2 separate regions of the Homo sapiens genome follow, and region 1 is linked to region 2. The links are contacts of gene promoters, found by promoter capture Hi-C in blood cells and fetal thymus (Javierre and others, 2016). All regions are on one chromosome and are shown on one strand. The core of a region is centred on a gene start or on the middle of the fragment in contact, and the rest is flanking DNA. Distances in the headings are between cores, read along the strand shown.

Evidence for each region. The method cuts DNA at HindIII sites, captures the fragments that hold promoters and counts their contacts. A CHiCAGO score of 5 or more calls a contact.
Region 1: a contact is called between a fragment that was not itself captured here and the fragment with the promoter of SPIN1 in region 2, in 8 of 17 cell types (monocytes, non-activated CD4 T cells, total CD8 T cells and 5 more). The highest score is 8.0, in monocytes.

The regions. Positions count from the first base shown.
Region 1 is chr9:87,956,872-87,960,932 of GRCh38, reverse strand. LOC122394732 reads right to left here. Exons shown (of 1, transcript NM_001395917.1): 1 at 4,050-4,061. Among named protein-coding and RNA genes, the nearest start is that of CDK20, 16 kb to the left of the region's middle. The HindIII fragment of the contact is 4,743 bases long and covers 1-4,061 here.
Region 2 is chr9:88,386,627-88,390,622 of GRCh38, reverse strand. SPIN1 (spindlin 1) reads right to left here and starts at 2,179. Exons shown (of 6, transcript NM_006717.3): 1 at 2,085-2,179. It overlaps LOC124902204 (a long non-coding RNA gene), which reads left to right and starts at 1,424. Exons shown (of 2, transcript XR_007061652.1): 1 at 1,424-1,511; 2 at 2,506-3,996. RefSeq lists a silencer at 1,527-2,426 and an enhancer at 2,504-3,363. The HindIII fragment of the contact is 9,781 bases long and covers 1-3,996 here.

The sequences.
Region 1 (4,061 bases), core at 859-3,358, 430 kb after region 2:
TTCAGACCAAGGAGAGCTACAGCCTTTAACCCCATTCAGACACTCATTCCATATGTGCATTACTCCTAGCAATAGATACGCCATTTTCCCAAGGTTTCTATCTTCATGAACTCTTGGTTAATGGCTAATGAGCTAACTACTTGGTTGGGACTTTGGCAATATCAGAGCTGGAAAATACAAGGCCAAGATATTCAGGGTAAAAAGATGTAGGGAAAATAATCATTATGAGACAGTATAGGAAAGAGACTTGGTCTTTGTAGACCGAGGCTCATGGGGCTCACATGTCCAGGCATATTCCCTCCCCTACCTTCTTGCCTCCCTTAACAAGCTGACCTAAGTCACATAGCAGAAGGGAAGCCTCTCCTAACTTAGCTGATCAGGCTGAATTCTTAACCACAAATAGAAGAAACTGTTTATTGCCTTAAGTGATGTCTCCCAAGGTTGCTAAAAGCCGGACTCTAGCATTCCTGATAAGAACCTGACCATATTCCAAGTTTACTAAAACAAAACTCTGGCATTCCCTATGAGAATTGGACCAGATCCAGTTGGCTGAAGACAAGATGGACTTCAGCACTGACCTTTCACTGAGTTTTCCTCATAATCTCACTGTAATACGAAAATCTCTGCCCAAATTGGGGCTTATCTACCATTTTCTAATTATGCAATGTATGTTAGGGCATGACACCCCACTGTACAGGCACAAAGAAAACTGCCTAAACAGGCTTCTGACAGAGCAGGAACATCACCATCTTGGACAAGCACCACCATTTTAAAATTCCCCTTGATCAGAAACCACCTAAATCCAAAGGGCATCAGCTAAGGTCAGCATGACCATAAATCACAAATGACATCTCCAACCAGAAACATTCCAACCCCTAAGATAAACCCCTCCCCAACCAGACACATGCCAGCCCCGAGATAACCTCCCCTCCAGCTGGAGACATTCCAAACCCCGCAATAAACTTCTCCTCCACACAGAAACATTCCAAGCCTGTGATAAGCTATCTTGCCCTAAAACACTTAAATACTCTTAGTCTGTAAGAGAGAGTGCTCCTGACTGAAATCGGCCAGAAACCCCTCTCAGGTTCATTCTCCAAAATAAACCTGTCTTTGACTGTTGAGCCACTTTTTGTGTTTCTTTCCTCTTTCTTTAACTCTCACAGCTTCTATGTCATTCCTTTCTCTGCCTCAGCTTCCTTAAAATGACAAGAGCTGAGCCCTTTTTGGCTGTAGCACTGGGGTCCTTTTCCTGGGCACTGCTCCCTTGCTTTGATTGAGCTCAAGCCCATTAAAACTTGCCTGAGAAAAATTACTGTTTGGCCTGGTATTAATTTGTATTTACTCGAGAGCCAAGATGCTGCACTAACACTTACAGTGGCTCCCATTCTGCCTACCTTGATGCACCGTACCTTGGCTCATACCAGACAAGACATGGAAGAGGCATGACACAACACCAAAGCTGATGAACTAACCATAGCATACCAGCAGATAAGCCTCTTGAAGGAGGCAGAGTCCTAGAGCTTTGGGATGAGCTACCCTATCCCATGCAAGGGCATGTAAGAGGAGAGGTCAGGGCATTTGGGCATCATGGGGTTACAAAAATGAATTATTATTTTTTATTTTTCTTTGAGATGGAGTCTTGCAGTGTCACCTAGGCTGAAGTGCAGTGGTGCAATATCGGCTCACTGCAACCTCTGCCTCCTGGGTTGAAGCAATTCTTGTGCCTCAGCCTGCCAAGTAGCTGGGACTACAGGCACGTGCCACCACACCTGGCTAATTTTAGTATTTTTAGTAGAGACGAGGGTTTCACCATGTTGCCCAGGCTGGTCTAGAACTCCTGACCTCAAGTGATCCACCCGCCTCTGCCTCCCAAAGTGCTGGGATTACAGGCGTGAGTCACCATGCCCGGTCAAAAAGGAATTATTAACAGAGGAGTCAACCCAGCAGAGACACATTTATGCAAGGTTATTAGGGACTGTACCATGCTAGAAATTTAGATACTGGGTTCACTGCCTGGGAGGAGAAATTCACAGGAAGGCCATTATCAGAACTGGCAAATCAACTTCAAAGGGCCTCCCCCTACAGTGACAGGAGCCAATGAATATGCTAAGGGATATCTACACAGGCCATCCATTTGCTTACCCATGTGAGGCAGGAACCTCTACTAATGTCACAATGGGTTACCAAAACAGCTTTTACAGCCTTTGGGTGTGCCACAAGTTACACAGTCAGATCAAGGCTCTTCTTGTACCACAAAGCAAATGCAACGATGGGTATTACAAAGTAACATTACAAAGTAACAGCAGTGGGTATCATAGAAAGATATAATGAGCTTTTAAAACGGGGGCTACTGAAACGATGTAGATGACAATGGTGACCTGAGTCATCAAAATGCTGCCTCTAGCCAGGGATGGTGGCTCACGCCTGTAATACTGGCGCTTTGGGAGGCAAGGTGGGTGGATTGCTTGAGCTCATGAGTTCAAGACCTGCCTGGGCAACATGATGAAACCTCGTCTCTAGTAAACATACAAAAATTAGGCATGGTGGCATGAGGTCTAGTTACTCAGGAGGCTTAGGTGGGAGGATGGCTTGAGCCCAGGAGGCAGAGGTTGCACTGAGCTGAGATTGCACCACTGTACTCCAGCCTGGGTGACAGAGCGTGACCCTGTCTCAAAAAACAAAAACAAAAAAAGCCAAGATGGTGTCCCAAGTCCTAATTACATTATATGAACTCTGCACCCCCTAGGGCATAACTACACAATATTTAAATTCACAACCAATGAGGGACTATCAACAAGAAAGGCTGCGACCTCTGCCCGTGACCACACTGGCCACAACGTAATTACAGTTTTCAGGTACACAGAAGCACTGATATGGCTGCACATGGCCAAGAAACCACTCGACACTTTTACCTTCCCCTTCTCCCTCATAGAAAACCCACAGCCTAACCACATCCCCCTTGATCCTGCCGCCCACATACATATAATACATATGTGTGTGTATACACATGTATATATGTATCTATTCATGGTGTGTATGTGTGTGTGTGTGTAAAGGAGAGGCTGGGCCGGGCACAGTGGCTCACGCCTGTAATCCCAGCATTTTGGGAGGCCGAGGTGGGCAGATCATGAGGTCAGGAGATCGAGACCACCCTGGCTAATGCAGTGAAACCCTGTCTCTACTAAAAATACAAAAAAATTAGGCAGGCATGGTGGCACGTGCCTGTAATCTCAGCTACTCGGGATGCTGAGGCAGGAGAATCACTTGAACCCAGGAGGCAGAGGTGCAGTGAGCTGAGATTGCACCACTGCACTCCGGCCTGGGCGACAGAGCAAGACTCCGTCTCAAAAAAAAAAAAAAAAAAATGAGGCCACTAAGATATTTTGTACTTGAATTACAAGTATATTTAAACATGAGGGTGGTAGATACGTCATGGTTAAGTAGGAATATACAAGCCTCTAGTCGCCTTGGTGTGTGCATTCTGATTGTTAGATTTTTTTTCTCTAGGATGCTGCAAACACATTTCAAAGTATAACCATGGAGTTATAGTATCAAAGAACTTAAGATTGAAAGGGCCTGTGGACATTATCTAGTCTGACTCTCATATTATAGCCTCAGAAAAAAATGAATGCCTACGAATGGAAACGGATTTGCCTAGCAATCCTGGAAAGAGCTGGGAACAGAACTTGACCTCTATTACACAGTAATAAAAATATTAATGGAAACAACAGTCATCACAAGAGCTAGTACCATTTTAGGGGTGGCTGCAATATGCCCTATATATATGTTATCTTATTTAATCCTTAAAAACAATATTTTAATATAGGTATTATCCTCATGTTGAATTTAAAAAATGAGTTTTTAAGTCTAGGAACATACAACTAATACATGGGAAAACCTACATTTAAATTGAGTTTTCTTATAGATACAAAATTCCATGTATTTCCCACTATTATTTTCACCTTAATTTTAATATTTATTATTATTTACTCATGCTATTAAAACTGTAGAAAATAATTGAAAATGATATCAATGAGAAGAGAACAGGATTAAGGCAAATA
Region 2 (3,996 bases), core at 930-3,429:
CATTGAATTAAGCATCCAACAAATATAAATACAGCATTAACATTTAAATGCTATCTCAGCAAATATTTTAAAGGATAAACCAAAAGAATGTATATCGAATATACTAGAAAAAAGATGCTAGCAATGAAGGAGTGCAACCAGTAACGTTGTAACTATGTGCAATCAGGTAAGTCACTGGAAGTGAAAACCACCTAAACCTCTGGCAGCTAAAACCAAATTAGTAACTCTCATCAATATGATAGCCAAATTTGAGACACTACCCACGAAATGCAGAGGGGCACACATCAGGCACATCAATATTGTGACCCCTCAGTTCACAAGTAAGGGAGACACACAATTATCTGAGATACACTTTAAGGACACCAATGACCAACATATGGCATCGCAATGGCTGTTCCAGGGAACATCCATTTTCACTGTTTCCTGGATTTCAGGCATAGAAAGATGACTGAAGACATATAGTGGCCCTTTTGCCTTGACCCAGTTCATAACCATTGTAAAAGTAACCATTTCACTACTCAAAAGATTATAAAGAAACTATTTTTCCTAAGAATCTAGGATCTACTACCTATAATTCTGGCATACACATTCTTTACAACCTTAATATATAATTATCAAATCTGATAACGAACGTTCTGTAAATTACCAGGTACTACAATATTTTGGTGTTTGCCTTTTAACTAAAGCTGAGGGGGGAGAGTGGGGAGGTTGGAAGAAGCCTCATTTCACCTGCCCTTTCCAAAATTTCACTTCAAAAGAGTGTTAAAAAAAACTCAGTATATCCAGGTATAAATCTCCAAGTTTAATTTTCACTGCTTAACAAAAGCGATGTAGAAAGCAATTACTGTACCCTCCATTAATCCTTTCGGATTGCATGGAATTCCTTCCAGAAAATTCCAATAGAAAAAAAGTTAAGACAGGTAATCGCGTTTTGGTACGTGTGTCGTCTCTGGCACAAGTCATGTAGAGTGAAATCCTTTAAGACATTTAAATGTTCCTGGTATTGTTTTGTGATTAACGTGATAAAATTGCCAAACAATCCATATTTACCATGAGTGAAAACACTTCCACCACGTACGGAAAATCTCTCCAAAACACAAAATCTGATTCAAAAATTATAAGTAAAAAGAGAATAAATGTAAAAACAATTCCATAAACAAACTTTGAAATGCGTATACGATGACATTACTGAAGCCATTACTCAAAACGAACCTCTGTAAAATCGAGAACGCACAATCAATGCAATAAAATGCTCGAGAAAGCCAAACCCGAGGCGCTGCGCAGTTCCCGCATCGCACAATTCGTTTCAACACATTCCTTGACGAATACACCCAAGGTCACTCACGATGGAGAGGAAAAGTGCCTGTCTCTCTCCAGAGCACGCAACCCGTTCGCCGCGCCCCCACGGAGGGCGGCGAAGAGACGGCGCATCAGGAAAGGGGCTGCGCGGGCGCGAGGACTGGCCGGTGGGCGTTCCGGCGCCGCGAACCGCGGAGCCTGCAACTTACAAGGTCCGCGGCCATCCCCCGGGCCTGGGAGGGGTGGCCCCAGGGCAGGCCCGCGTCCCCGGGGTGACCCGACCCGTCGCGCCGGGGTCCCGCCCCTCCCCCCGCCCCGCCCCCGTCGCCGGCCCGGGATTATGCAACGTTCCCCCTCCCCGCCTGCATTCTGGCGCAGCGCCCCCTCCCCGCGCCCGACTGCGCAGCGCCGCCGCCCCCTGCCCGCCGGCCTCCCCGCCCGGCTCCAAACAAAGCGCGCGCTAAGGGGCCGGCGGCGGCCGGGGAACTGGGGACGAGAGGGTGGCGGCCATGTTGGCGGGGGGCGGCGGGGATGGGGGCACGGAGGAGTAGGGGCCGGCGAACAAAGGAGCGCGCGCCCGCCCCGAGGCCCAGGCCCGCCCAGCCCGGGTCCCCGCCGCGGCCCAGCCGGCAGGGGGCGCTATGCGGGCGCCGCCCGCTGGACAATGCTCCGCCGGGCCCCGCGCGGGCCGCGCTCACCTGCGCCCCCGGGCAGACCGCCGCACCGCTGGCCCGCCCGCAGCCCGCACTCCCTCACGACCCACGCCCGCCCTGCGCGGGCCTCACCTGCTGACCGCCGAGGCTGCAGTCCACAGGCCCACGGGTTCCGCCGTCGCTCGTTCGCGCTCCCGCCGGCCCCAGCCTGAGCCAGACGGCGCCTCCCCGCCCCCGCTCCCTCGCCGCGGACGCCGCCCGCCCCCCAACAGTCAGGGCGCACGCGCACTGCGCCCGCCGAACTGCGACGGCCGCGCCGCCCCGGCGCCTGGCGCCGACGGCCGACTGCGCAGGCGCAGTGGGGCGGGGCGGGGCCGGCGAGGGCGGGGCCTGGCCCCTCTCACCTGGCTGGCGGCAGGGCGGGGCTCGAGCCCGGGACTGCCAGGTGCGCGCCGGGAATGGGCGGCGGCAGGCGCGCGGGGCACAGGTTCCTGAGGGGGCGCAGCTTTTCCTGGAAGGCAGGCAGCCTGAGAAGGGCTTCGTTTTTGCGCAGTAGGACGTTGAAGAAAGGACAAGCCCCCTTTGTCCTGGACGTAAGCCGCAAGTCGTCCTGAGTGGTGCACACCGCGAAGACTGAGGAAACTGGATCACAGGGCTGGGCCGTGAGCCTTGAACCTCGGAGAACGTCGCATTACTGCTCCAGCGCGCCGGTTCAGGGCCGCGGGACGCGAGCCCTTTAAAAGGATGGATTTGCTTCCTGTGACTCCCTGGAAGAGACGTCTTCACCACCGCACTGCGTAGAGGCCGGCGTCGTCGCCGGCTCACCCCGCTTGCTGCCTCCCCGCACAAAGCCCAGCCCAGGTAGCTCAGGTTAGCTGGAGCCCCGGAGCCTCACCTACAAGTACCTGGCCTGTCCTAGGTTGTGTGGGGACGGGATGTGGCTTCTGCAAGCCCAGAAACCTGTTTCCACTCCCCCACCACAAATGGAACTCACCCAGCTCTACTCGCAAGGTTAGGAGCCAAAAATTCCCATGATCGCACGCGAATTCATTTGACTTCCGTTTCAGTTAAGATGCCTTTTCAGCATTTTGTTGCTTGTTTGCAGAAGGGAGAGAGGTAGGATCAAGAATAGTTTTTACTCCTGCAGAGTCGAGTGCGAGACTTGGAGGCTGAGTCCAGGCGCTCTCCCCTCCCCGCCAGTCCCGTGTCCTGGAGCAGGTCACTGACCTGGTTCCTCGAGTGCGACAGCGCAGCCTCATCGTAATAAACCGCCTCCCAAAGCGTTGTCAGATCAAATTCCAGAACATGTTACTGGAAAGCACCTTGAACACTCTAAACTGCAGCACAGTTATTAGTTAGCAATACTCTTTGGGGTTTCACTGGCACCTTTTCTAACAAATAAGATTGATAGATGCCTGCTCAAACAAATTGAAGTGCTTGTCTCAGATGACACACTTGGCAGGCATGGGACGTTCACAGGCCAACTAGAGAGCTAATTTCAAAACTGAGATATAAAAGTGTATCGCTGTACTTACAAGTTACCAAGTGTTGAGAAATTACTCACTTTCATTTGTGTGTTTAATGTCTTTTTTGTTTTTTTAGACGGAGTCTCACTCTGTTCCCCAGGCTGCAGTGCAGTGGCATGATCTCGGCCCACTGCAACCTCCGCTTCCTGGGTTCAAGCAATCCTCACATTTCAGCCTCCCGAGTAGCTGGGATTACAGGCGCGCACCACCATGTCCAGCTAATTTTTAAAAATATTTTTAGTAGAGACGGGGTTTCGCCATGTTGGCCAGGCCGGTCTCAAACTCCTGGCCTCCAGCAATCCGCTGGCCTCGGCCTCCTGAAGTGCTAGGATTACAGGCGTGAGCCACCGCGCCTGGCCTGTTTAATGTCTTGCAGTGGGGTCATCTCCGAAACAAAGAGGGATGGGAAGAAGGTAGGTGCCAAGAAGTCTGCTGGTTGGAAGATTTCATCTCATTGGCGAGATCCCTGGGTTTCTCCACCTCAGCAGTGTTGGCTTTTGGGATGGGATAATCCTTTC